Linked DNA regions of Homo sapiens: all the other regions are linked to region 2. The links are contacts of gene promoters, found by promoter capture Hi-C in human tissues and cell types (Jung and others, 2019). All regions are on one chromosome and are shown on one strand. The core of a region is centred on a gene start or on the middle of the fragment in contact, and the rest is flanking DNA. Distances in the headings are between cores, read along the strand shown.

The links. The method cuts DNA at HindIII sites, captures the fragments that hold promoters and counts their contacts. A contact is called where the count stands out against the background at its distance.
Region 1: a fragment that was not itself captured here is called in contact with the fragment with the promoter of GRIN2B in region 2 in 2 of the 25 tissues and cell types used here (H1 embryonic stem cells and dorsolateral prefrontal cortex).
Region 3: a fragment that was not itself captured here is called in contact with the fragment with the promoter of GRIN2B in region 2 in 2 of the 25 tissues and cell types used here (dorsolateral prefrontal cortex and mesendoderm cells).

What each region holds. Positions count from the first base shown.
Region 1 is chr12:13,740,604-13,744,840 of GRCh38, reverse strand. All of the region lies in intron 4 of GRIN2B (glutamate ionotropic receptor NMDA type subunit 2B), which reads left to right. Among named protein-coding and RNA genes, the nearest start is that of GRIN2B, 240 kb to the left of the region's middle. The HindIII fragment of the contact is 3,526 bases long and covers 1,025-4,237 here.
Region 2 is chr12:13,979,034-13,983,654 of GRCh38, reverse strand. GRIN2B (glutamate ionotropic receptor NMDA type subunit 2B) reads left to right here and starts at 2,053. Exons shown (of 14, transcript NM_000834.5): 1 at 2,053-2,313; 2 at 3,299-3,727. The HindIII fragment of the contact is 12,156 bases long and covers 1-4,621 here.
Region 3 is chr12:13,785,612-13,789,766 of GRCh38, reverse strand. The region is part of intron 3 of GRIN2B (glutamate ionotropic receptor NMDA type subunit 2B); the gene reads left to right. Among named protein-coding and RNA genes, the nearest start is that of GRIN2B, 190 kb to the left of the region's middle. The HindIII fragment of the contact is 4,112 bases long and covers 442-4,155 here.

The DNA of each region.
Region 1 (4,237 bases), core at 1,538-4,037, 240 kb after region 2:
TGGTGGCGCGTCCTCTTCCGGGAGGACATGGTGGGGTTAGCTCGCCCAGACTGGCACCAGTCTCCAAGCTGAGCTGGCTGGTCACACATGAAGGAACTGCTGCTGACAGATTAGGGCTTCCCGCTGCTGAAATCTGTTCCCTCTTGTCCAGCTTCCAGCAGCAGCAGCCGGCCGGGGGCTGCCTACAGCTTCCCTCAATGCCCAGGCCTTTTCTTTCCCTCATTCATTACTGCTCCACACCCCACCCTCTTTCTTTCTTTATTCTTTTCTGTCTCTTTCTTTATTGGGTGTTTTGTTCATTGATCTTTTGCTGCCCCTCTCTTCTTTAGCCAGCTTTCATTTAAAGCTTTTAAAACCTTTCTTGCCTTTACCTTTCTATGTTCATAAATGACCGCCTGTGGAATTCTTGCACGCACACACTCATATTCATGTGTGCATGTATTCCTCATCCAGACAGCACCTATTTATGTATATTTGCATTTGTCAAGTGAAGAGAGAATTAAGAAAACTGGATAAAACACTTTTATATGTTACATTTCTCTAATGCTTTCTATTGCTGAGACTATTTAGATGATTACATGAGAAAGGTTGAATATGGGATAGAAGTTGGGAGGAATTCTTAAAAAATGGCTTGCCTGGAATTAGCTCTGATGAATATCAAGTAAATATTTCCTTCCAATCTGATTCCATTGTTAAAGTCTTGACGGCTGTAAGGATGGTCGCTAAATATCCCTAGCACATTTATTGTTTGGGCGAAGGAGGGAAACTTAGTAGTCAAGTGGTTTTATAAATTGTTGATGAGCCTATAAATGAATCTTCTTTTTCTAAAGTTAAGTTCTCCCCTGACAAGCAACAGGAATAGCCATGGAAACCACCCTGTGACAATATGGTATTCATTGTAAGTGGTCCTTTTCACAATTTTCCAAAAGAGATTATAGATGGGGTCCAGATGGAGGTAGGTGTCAAAATACATTTAGTGTTAGACAAAAAACCCAATTATCAAAAATTTCGTTGTTCATCATCATGGCTAATAATGATGATGATTAAAGTGAGGATTTTCATACAGATAATCTTCTTGTATATCGTCTCACTAAATCATTATAACAAACATGTGAAGGCTTCTTTTATTCACTGCAAGGATTGGCTGCGGACTTCAACAGAGAAACCTCACATACTTGCTTCCTTTTTGTTTTCTCAGAGGTATTTCCAGACACTCCCATTGACTTTCTTCCTCCCCTGCTTGAAAAAAAATCTTTCAGGCACTTTTGTTTAGGCAAAACAGCACAATAGAGCATTATTATATTACAGTTCACTATTACACAGATCTTAATAATGTGTCAAATTTCCCTCATTATTGACTATAGAGGACAAGGTGTGTGTGTGTATGTGTGTGCATATTAGAGACTATGACTCAAAATAGTGGACTCCACAGGCTGCACGGGGTCATTGTCCTCACTTCTGTCACACGTGCTCACATGTGTTCACATGGAGACTTGGCTTTTTTACCTAAAGGACAAGAGGTCACATATTCAACAACCTGATGTATCTAGAACATAACCAACAGTCATGAAGAAAGCAGAAAAGGGCTCTGAGCTAAAATCCCTGACACAAAACTCTTGCCCTAAAATGACTGCTGTTTCTTGTCATACAGAGTGTCGCTCAAAGCACGTTTACTCTAATTTTACACATACTTCTAAGAAGCTTGTGGGCAGTTGGGTTATCTATGGTGTGGAGTCCCAGTAACCCAGTTTAAATGAGATATGTGAGCATAGTTAGGTGGTCTGTCCAGAGCTGGGATGACAGCTGCATGTCATCAGGACTCAGATGCCTGCTAGCTTTCCACTCTTTCATCCACTGGGTATATCCTTCATCCCCATGCCTAAGATGGCTGCTGGAACTCCAGTTTCAAGCAGCAGATTGAAGTTAGAAAGGAAGGAAGGTAAATCATTTCCCTGTTTAGGAAATTCCCCTGAAGTTCCACACTTTGCTTATAGTCTGCTGGTTGGAAATCAGTCAATGGCCACACTAGCAACAAGCAAAATTGGGAAATATAGCTTAGTTTAGTTTTTAACCTGGGCAGTAATGTGCCCAGTTAAAAATCAAAGTTCTAAGCCGGGCACAGTGGCTCATGCCTATAATCCCAGCACTTTGGGAGGCCGAGGCAGGCAGATTACCGGAGGTCAGGGGGTTGAGACCAGCCTGGCCAACATGGTGAAACTCCATCTCTACTAAAAATACAAAAATTAACCAGGTGTGGTGGTGTACATCTGTAATCCTAGCTACTTGAGAGGCTGGGGTAAGAGAATCACTTGAACCTGGGAGGTGGAGGTTTCAGTGAGCCGAGATCATGCCACTGTACTCCAGCCTCGGCAACAGGGCGAGACTCTGTCTCAAAAACAAAAAAACAAAGTTCTGTTAACTAGTGAGAGAGGGCCAAGGCCATATCTTTGGTAGACAACTTTGAGATATTTGTTTATATGATTTCCTAGATAACAATAGCTTAGGTATAACAGACATGATGATGAGGATCAGATAGGCAAACCAACAGCATTAATAAATAACAGAATGGAAAAGAGTGGAAGATATTAGAAAAACCCAGCAGAAAACCTTGAAAAGCAGAGTTGTATAACACCATTTGGGGAGAAATGTCATCTACGCCCCAGAAAGCATATACCCTGCATAAAAATCCCTGTATAGCAAAAAAGCATAGTCATTGTTAAGTCATCAATAAGAGCTTAAATTATATCGATTATCTTAGGTATAAAAAGTCAGAGAACTCTGTAATGCCTTTCTGAAATTTTCCATTAAAATGCTTCCTATAATCAAGAAAAAGCCTGTACTTTAAAATACTAAGCTTCAGCAATTTAGAAAATTTATTTTTAAAAAAGATTATTGAGTGAATACTATGTGCCAAGGGCTTTATATAGCATAATTTAAGCTTAAAAGTATTGTACAGGGATATGATTGCCTCCAATTTTTAGATAAACTGAGATTGCCTGAGTGAGGTGGCTCACACCTGTAATTTCAGCACTTTGGGAGGCTGAGGCAGGTAGATCACTTGAGACCAGCTTGGGCAACATGGCAAAAACCCCGTCTTTATAAAATACAGAAATATTAAATTAGCCAGGCATGGTGGCATGCACCTGTAGTCCCAGCAACCTGGGAAGCTTAGGTGAGAATCACTTGGGCCCAGGAAGATAGAGGCTGCAGTGAGCCATGATCATGCCACTGCACTCCAGCCTGGGTGAAAGAGCAAGACCCTGTCTCAAAAAAATAAAACGAAAGCAACAACAAAAAACCCCAAACCCCCTGAGATCCAGAAAGATTAAGACTTTTGCTTACTTTGTGTTTCAAACTCAAATTTTTATGAATTCCAGGCGTACTTTGCCCCAGGTTATCCATCTTTCTATGTCCTTTGCTAAAGAGGTTGAGTGAATTAGGAATGACTCACATGTATATAAACATATCATTAACCTGTGGGACAGGGTGGTTTGGTAATAAAGAGTTTCCTGTCTGGGCGCGGTGGCTCACGCCTGTAATCCCAGCACTTTGGAAGGCCAAGGTGGGTGGATCATGAGGTCAGGAGTTCAAGAACAGCCTGGGCAAGATAGTGAAACCCTGTCTCTACTAAAAATACAAAAAAATTAGCCGGGCGTGGTGGCGGATGCCTGTAATCCCAGCTACTTGGGAGGCTGAGGCAGAGAATTGCTTGAACCCGGGAGGTGGAGGTTGCAGTGAGCTGAGATCACACCACTGCACTCACAGAGTGAGACTCCATCGCAATAAAATAAAATAAAATAAATAAATAGTTTACTTTCTTGGATTCTCTGCTATTTCTTGCCCTAAAGACTAGACCATGACACATCTAGAATCAGCCTGGGAGTGGCATCCAGGACACACATGGTAAAGACTTCCCACACTGAACCTGCTCATCTCACTCTCTGTCCTGAAGTGTGCCCATCTCTACTTGCTGGTCTTGCTCTGATCTTGCTGATACCTCCCTTTTCCTAATGGGAAGGAGGATTATTTTTTCTTATCCTATTCCCAAATCCTTTAACCCATAGAGGAAAAAACAACAACTTGTAGTCTTTGCATACCTGAAAAATCCTTGGAACTGAAGCGGGTGGAGACTTTCTGGTCTACAACCTGCCAAGGTTCAGGGAGATTACAGATGCATTGAAAATACTGTCAGGGACATGCAATAGAACAAAACAAGACCTTGGCCTCTGCCATGATT
Region 2 (4,621 bases), core at 804-3,303:
ACAGGGTGGAATGGAATTGCAACAGGGTTCAGGTAGGGAGGAAAAGGAAAGAAAATAGGGAAGAATAGTATAATTTTGGTGAAGGGACTGAGGATAGGAAGGGGAACGTGGGCTATGAGCCAGAAATAAAAAATATAAAAATTTAAAAAGTAGATTCAAGGTCAACCCATGAAGATCCTTGAGTGAGCTTGGATGTTATTCTGAAGCTAATGGACCAGGTAACGGTAATTTTCCTGGAAAATTCAGGGAAGAGTGTTTCAGGAAATCTCTATTAGGTTCTTGCTTTCTGCATTCTATACTCCTCTTGGAATCGGCGTTCTAACAACTGCAAACCTGCCCATAGGCAGGTGAACTTGAAAACCCTGGAGACAAATTATTAGAGGGGCTTGGGTTGGCTGTTGTGTATCAAGAGGGCACAGCAACTCTGGGGTGCTTCGACACTTCCCCAAAGTAGTGAAAGATCAGTTCTAACTCTTAGAAAAATAGAAAACCATTACTGAGAAGGAATAATTTGCATGTGAACACACTCTATTTGTGTTTTCACACAATGCTTATGTGTTCGTGTGTGTTAAATATGTTAGATTCAAAAATTAAGCCTGAGAAAAACCAGGAAACAGAAGAATTACTGTAGCTCAGAAGTATGAGTAGTCTGGTCTACAGGACAGCAAAAACATATCTGATGGCTTCTACAGACTAAAGTTCCAAGCCACTAGGTATATCCACTCACACAGCCTTCTCTCCTGTGCGTTTGTATGGCCGCTTCTCAGGAATGCTGGTGAGAAGCCCATGATATAACCAATATGAAAATGTTCCACCACTGTAGTATTCTAGATATTTGAAAAGACAATGGATGAGAATGAAAATGATGCATATACAATAATATTAATGTTAAAAGTAAACAATACTACAGGTGGTGATAAGGGCTATTAAAATATAAAAGAGTTCAATAGGAAGAGAAATGAATGGATGTTTGCCTTTTCAAAGAGGGTGGGTTTGTAAATGCCAGGAAATCCAGTTTCCTTTAGGGATTATTCACGGGCCTCACCATCTTCTCTTCTCAAGGCATTTAAATAACAGGATCCACTTTAATAAAAAATGTCAAACTCCTCCCGCCTTCACTAGCAGCCAGAAAAGCACGCGTATGGTCCATACTATACAATTTAGCCACGAATGACACCTGCTTTGCTTTGTTTTCTATTGTGTTAGGCGTCAGCCTCGTGTGCTCAGATAGATCTTAAGCTCCTTGAAGGCAAGAAAGAACCCGGTCCCAGACTGCGTCCGACACACAGAATGCTCGTAGGAAGCACAGGCTGATTTATGGAAAATACAGCAAGGGTCTTCAATTTCGAACTACAGCTCCGCCTTGGAGATGCTTTCCGCAGCCCGCGGGCCGCCCACGGGGGGCACTGTCTAGCTCCCCTCGCCCCTCAGCCGCTCTCCGTCGGTGCTGTTCCCCGCTGCGGCCGGGAGGAGGCGCCACGGACTCGGGCTAAGCTTCTTCCCCCTTCCGTCCCCCTTCCATCCACCTTACCACCCCACTTCCCCAGCACATGACGTGGGAAGCTGCCTCCGCCAGAGTCTTAGCAAGAGGAGTGAGGGGGTGCAGGGGCTTGGGGGTGGGGTGGGGTGGGGGGTGTGGAGAAAGAGGACACGCGCGCTCACACCCGCCCCTGGGAGCAGAAGCAGTATCTTCCCCAGCTTCGTGGGTTTCTCCTCCCCCCGGAGTCAGGGTGTGCGAGGTAGGGGGTGTGTGTGTGTCTGTGTGTGTGTGCGCGGCACGTTTTTGAGTGTGAGACCCAAATCCAGACCAGGCAACCTGCGTTCCCCGCGCCTCCCCCCGTCCCCGGTGATTAATACCCATTTTTCTGACGCTCCCCTCCTCCCCTCCTGCTCTCCCTCTCCGGCTGCCGCGCGGTTGACTTGCACAGCCTGCCCCCGCCCGCTTCCCTTCCCCCGGCTCCGATCCTCACCAACTGGAATCTGGGCTCCTGCCTCTCCACCCCCCACCTCTTTTTGAGAAAGGAAGGTTCCCCCCACCCCCTTTCAAAAACCACTTCCTCCGGCTTCTTCACCTCTAGGAAATCTCGGGGCTTCGCTCTATCGAGAGTGCTCGTCAAGGGTGATTCTTGATCACCACCATCCAGTAGTGCTGGCGTCCGAATGCATATCCTTTTGCCTTGCAAAGAAGAGTCATGAACTTCAAAACCCCCGAGACGGATCATTAATCCTGCTTTGCAGGAAAGGAAAACCCTCCATTCCCAGCCACCGGCCACCCCTCTCCGCAGACTGCAACCGCGGAGGCGCTCGGAGCCGGTACGTAAAGATGGGCTTTGGAGTCTCTCCTTTGAATGTAGGGGTTTGGGGGTGTCAGGCAGATAAAGGGTCGAAGCCGTGAAATCGTGAACGAATCTGGCATGAGGTAAAGCTCTGAAATCCAGCAGAACCCGGCACTTGCTAATTTGGACGTGGCTTTTTTAAAGGTTTTTTTTTTTTGTGGGGGAGGGGGTGCTGTGACTGGGTAGGGCTGTCTCTGGTCTTTTGGGGGGTTTCATCCCTTCACCTAGCAGAGGGGCAGGGCAGCGGCGCCCCGGGCCGGACCCACGCGCCGAGCCCATCCGTCCAATCGACACGTTGCAGGTGAAGCCCCGTGCGCTGCACCTCAGCGCGGCGGCAGCGTGAGTGTGCGCGGGGGTGAGTGTGCGCGGGGGTGAGTGTGAGTGCGCGCGGGGCGCGTGCGCGTCGGGGGCGTGTGTGCGCGCGTCAGTGTGCCCCTTCCAAGAAATGCCCAGTGTGCACCCCGTGCACAATCAGAACCCATTCAGCACAAGCCCGGGGTGGGAGGCGGCGCTGCTGCTGGAGGCGATGGGGAGAGCGAGCGAGACAAGTCAGCAGCAATGCAGATGGGGCTGGGGGCCGCACTCGCTGGCGAGTTAAGTGGGAATTGTGTTTCTGCGTGTGTGTGAGTGTGTGTTGCTGTATGGTGCCGCTTCTCCCCCCCTTCCTCCTTCCTTCCCACTTCCCTCCTTCGCTCGCTCCCTCCCTCTCTCCTCTTCCATTCAGGTTGGCTTTCCCACCTCTCATCCGTGCCTGTCCCAGGAATGGTATAGCCAGACCTTTTCTGAATTATTTATAGACCGGTACCAGCTGTTTTCAATTCCTCTCGTGTGCACTCTGTGGGAAATGCGGGGTTTCCTCCCCCCTTTCCTTAAAACGAATTGATATCTTTTTCGGAATGCATTTTTCTCACCCTCCGGGGGACACGCGAATCAAGCCCTGACCGCCTCTTTTTCCCCCTTAGGAAGGGGACGCTTTGGGAATGACCATGCTCCACCGAGGGACGGAGCCGGCCCCCAGCTTCTCCACACAGAGCCTCCTCCACTAACGCTCCAAAAACCAAAAACCGTAATTGCCAGAAGAAGCGTTAAAAATCTATTCCAGCCACTAACCTCACATGCACACGGAATAATTACTCTGGATTCTGCATTGTGAGCTGCTCTCCATACCCTGAATTACCTTTGAATTAAATCTTTTTTTTTTTGAATTTGCATCTCTTCAAGACACAAGATTAAAACAAAATTTACGCTAAATTGGATTTTAAATTATCTTCCGTTCATTTATCCTTCGTCTTTCTTATGTGGATATGCAAGCGAGAAGAAGGGACTGGACATTCCCAACATGCTCACTCCCTTAATCTGTCCGTCTAGAGGTTTGGCTTCTACAAACCAAGGTAGGGCAAATTCTATTTTATTTTTTCCTCACCTGGGGTAGGGATTCCTCATTTTATCTATCTCTTCGAGTCCCTCAAGTGGATCTTTTTGGAAGAAAAGGTCACAAGATATGAAAATAATGCTGTTTTGGGAAAAAAGGCTTATTACAAAGAAGGAAATCTCCCATGTTTTTTCTTTTTCTTCTCTCATCTAACAGGTTTTGGGCTTTTGGGGGGCAGTGGGGGTGGATGTATGCAGGCACAAAAGATGTTGGATGGCATCAGGGGAATGTATCTATATCTATAGACATAGCCAGCCAGGAGACCTGTGTGATTTTCCAGTTAAATAGCATTTTATTCACCCAGAACTAAAGCTCCGATTTTTATGGGAATCTAGAAATCCTTTTTTTTTTTTTTTTTCAGGTTGGCTTTATTCCCCTTGTCACCTTCATGCCTCTCTCCCTGTCTCCTGTCTTTACCTTTCTAGGCATCCTTTCTATGCCCTTTAAAACAGATAAAAATAATGATTGAGATTACTGTGATTGTTGCCCTGAAATCCACTTGCTGTCTAAAGGGTTGACAAGGGGCCCAGAGATCCCGGGAGGCCTATTGCAGAGGGGTAGGTCTAGGTGGGGATCGGGCTGGTCTCAGAACACCTGGAATTGAAGGATGCTGCAGGTTAAACGACTTAAATCTTAAGCTCGGAAAGGAGGAATTCTGTCAATATTCTGCTTTTAATTTGTATTTTTTCCTGTGCTATTATTTTTGAGCTGTAAATTTCTCCTTCTGTCTACATATCTATTTATACCCACACATCCTCCAAGCAAACTGTTACTTCTACACTCTTGCAAAATGGCTATCTTGCAGAGTTCTAAAATGCTGTGCATGTGGAAGGGGTGCAGAATTCGACACGTG
Region 3 (4,155 bases), core at 1,248-3,747, 190 kb after region 2:
GACATTCTATTTAATTAGGTTTTCTTAAAAAAATAGCAAGTAACATATATTGAGCACTTACTTATACTCCTCACTTTACCCAACTCTGATGCATAGCCCTGAATCGCTTAATCCTTCCAACAATTCTTACATGAGCATAATTATTATCACCAGTTTATAGCTGAAAAAACTAAGGCTAGTAGTGCTTAGATAATTTCTCCAAATATTCAGAGCGACTAAAAAAAAACTGATCTTGGACTGACAGTTCTTACACTAGGGTATTTGCCATCAAAATAGTCTTCCTTTTAGGGTCTCTTGTGATTTAAGGAAAACTTGCCCAGGGGATGCAGGGGAGTGGGGCATCCTAAACTAGAAACATCCTTTTCCCTCATCCAAGTCCTTTAAGCTGCAGCCATCTTCTGAAACCTTTTTGCTGGAATGTGGAAGGCACATGCACTTAGTTTAATGGTAACATGCTTTTGCAGTTATTGCCTCTTAAGATCTCAGTTGTTAATGGGATACCATTATTGCACCGTTGCCAGTGGTTTTTCATTTTATTCTGATACTCTGGCATGGATCCTACAGAGGCTGTTGTTGAATATAAGAGTTTATAACCTCTGACATGCAAGTCTATGGATAAAACATGATTTGACTGTTTTAAAAACATTCTCTCTTGTTTAATGAGGTTTTTAAGTGTGTATAGGAAAAAAAACAACAACCAGGACTCTTTAAGAAGCCTTTGGCAAGAAGCTCCAGAGGTTTAGCTAGAGCTGACTTGAAATGTGGTGACCAGCCATTAATCGGATGGTCAGCAAATTAAGTGAGTTCGACATTTGCCGGAGCTTTGTATCTCCATTGCCAGTTTCATGTTCCACTTGCTTGCAGTCAGCCAGTGCAGAGGGAAGGTAATGATGCTCAGGCCAAGGCAGGTCTTCCTTGGAGAAAAAGGGAAGTGGTCTCTCCTAGCAGCAAAGATAGTTCTAGCAAAGTCCCCAGAGTTCAAAGGGAGATGCTTGGGCTGAAACTTAACACCTTCCCTCAGCAAAACAATCATTTTGGCTGCAAGCAGGTTTAACTGTCACATGAAACATCAATACACAGAAATTAAGGGTTCCTCGAAAAGGAAAGAAGGGAAACCAAAGTTTATATAAGAGGCACGTGAAATTGTTTTCCCAGTGGGCACCAGGTGATTTCTGTGTCTAAGTAACAGGAAACCACTTAATTTTTCCTTCCCTTGGTAACCTCATTTTTAAAACGAGGTTGGGTGGCTGACTTCCAAGGCTCTCTTGTGAGCAAGCATTCTATGGTTCTAGCAAATGCTTGGTAAGAGTTGAATATATTAATAAGGTCTTTATGCCTAGATTTTTATAATTTTTCTCTGATTGACAGTATCAGTAATGGTTATAATCAGTAGAAATGAGAGAAATGTGTTATTTTAATGGTTATATTTGCTGGAAACTTAGTCCATTCTGTTGAATACTATATGTGTTCCCTATAGTGGCCCTTCTAATGTTCTGAGAGTCCAGTTCTGTCCCCGCAATTCAACATCTTTTCTTTGGAACAAAGTGGAAAGCTTCATCACACATAATCTCTCTTCTAATATCTACCTGACTTTGGGAGAAAAATTATATATTTAGACCTCTCCCACTTGAGCCTCCCTCTACCTGCCACATAAGCTATTCAGATGGAACCTGATATTTTATCCTTCCTTCCTCTTCCCTTGCCTCTGAGATGACAGGATATCAGTCCCAAAAGGTCTTAAGGTTCACGAGGGCTCCATTGGCTTATGCCCCAGAGAGGCGTGGGGCTGCTATGAAGAATCTTCCTGGTGTATTTGAGATAAGTTGGTATTTGCAGGCTGGTCTGGGGTTGCAATCCCCATTTATTACATTGGATCAATGGGAGAATGCTTTTGGATTTCTAAATAACTAGCTTAAGGATGAATTTTTGGAATGTGATGTATTTATGGATTGGGGATTGATCAGCCTAATCAGTGAGATGAAGAAGTTGGGATCTTTATTCTTAAAAATGTAGGTTCCATGAAAGATGGCTCCCACTGGCCTAAATTGTATCTTCACAATTGTCTCTGAGTTTGTTACATGGATTGGAATCTTAGTTACAGGCTTAAACGACCATAATAGGATGTATGAAATCCTTAGATAATTTGCATATTTTCTGAACACTTAAATTCCTTGCTTTTTTTCTTCCGCCCATGAGATCTTTTTCTAGCTGAATTGGCAAATCTTTGTGTTTCAGTTCTCTGGTACGGCTTGCCCTTTTGCAGAAGTGCTAATAAGCTATAACATTGCACAGGGAGAGGCGCTGGGGGTTAAGTCACCTGAAATAATGCAGATGTTTCTGGCAGGTATAGTCCTAGAATTTGAATAGTACTTTTTCTATTTCAGACCATTGGTAGCAGCCAAGTCCCATTGTACTTGCCATTTCCTTTCTGTCTCCTAGACTATATGAAATAGAATCTTCACCTTTTCTGATGATACGTGTCCGATAAGCAATGAATGGCTGAAGAGTTGGGGAATTCCACTGAAGTTCATCTTCTTTTATGCAGGGGCTTCTCATAGACTTAAGACAGCTTTTCAAATAATATTCAGTGGCCACTTCTCCTAGCCTAGGTTAGACATGATCCTGCATTTCATCTAGTTAACAGTTATGCCTATTTTAATAGGCCTTAAGAAAAAACAATTTTAAAAAGATATTTCTTAGATGAATTGTGGTTTTGGGAGGTAGAAGCTGAACAGAAAGCAGCAGGTAAGAACTGTCTATCAAAGGTTCCTTGGAGGAGGTGGATCGTGCTACATACTTTTTTTTTTTCTCCTTTGAAGCCTGTATTTATTGTCCCTCCTTTGTGCAGAGTCTCAAACCGGGAGGACTAGGCACTCTTGAACGGGCCCTTTTACCTGCTCCCTCCCAGCCCCCACCTGCAGCGCAGCCTGCATGGACAAAGAAAGGGAGTGGACAACAGGCACAGCGGCAAAACAAGCTGTGTCAGTTTCCCTTTCTTCCCCTTTGAGTTTGTAAAAGAGCTATTTCCAAGCTTACATGGTTCACCTGGGTTTCAATTCAATCAGGGATTTTTTCTTTTCCTTTTTTTTTTCCCCTCAGCCCTGATACCTGTGGGAAAAATCTGGTATATTCCTGGTTCACCAGGCCTTTCTCAGCCCCTAGCCTCCGGACCCTGATCACCACGGCCAATGGCAGGTCTGCTTTCTTAAGTATGTAAGTGTGTCCGCCAGGACTCAGGACTGCCTTGGTTGACATTTTATGTAATTAAAATGGCGTGCAGTTCTTGAAAAGCAAATAAGTTCAGCTATGTGGCACTCTTTGAGAGACAAGTGCATAAAGTAGGATAGAATGAGAATGAGATTAACATGTTTAAGGCATCGGTGGTCCCAGCAAAATTGAATACAATTGGGTATATAGGACATTTAGTTCAGTTGTATATTAACAGGGTTACTGGGTGGAATTTTTCTGACATTTGAATCAAATTAAACCCCAAATTATTTTAATTTGGTTTTAGGCTTAATTTCTCCCTCTAGCCTTGGGACCCTTTGCTGAATAACTATGGATGATTAAAGCAGTAGGAGAAAATGAAATGTACCTGCTTAGTTTAGTCGAGGCGTTCTTTACTGAAAAAGTGGGCAAAGGCAAAACTCTCAAGCTTTACTGGAGAGACCAGTCAGCAATTATCCTTTCCTGGGCAGCAGAAAATTAGCATAAGATTGAGGGAATCAAAATATTTTGATTCATGATGTAGTACTGCTGGTGACTCTGTGACCTTGGGCAAGTCATTTAACTACTTTGTGGCCTAGTTTAGTTTATTTCCATAAATATGGAAAGTTCAAATGAAAACATTACTTAACACAGCACACTGGCTCCTAGAGTCTTAGATTCAAATTTTAGCTCTGCCTCTTAGTAGATATTTGACAACGGATTAACATTTTGAGTCTCAGTTGCCCATATATTACATATGGAAAATAGTAATCATAACTATTTTGTTATCTGTTGCTATATTTGTTACATCACAAGATTGATGTGATGATTAAAAGAGAATGCACATAGAGTGCTTAGCAGAGTGATAGCTCATAGTACACACTTAATATTGTCGTTGGTGTTATTACATTCTTTTCATTACATGAAGATACAGTGGAGAATTAGGAT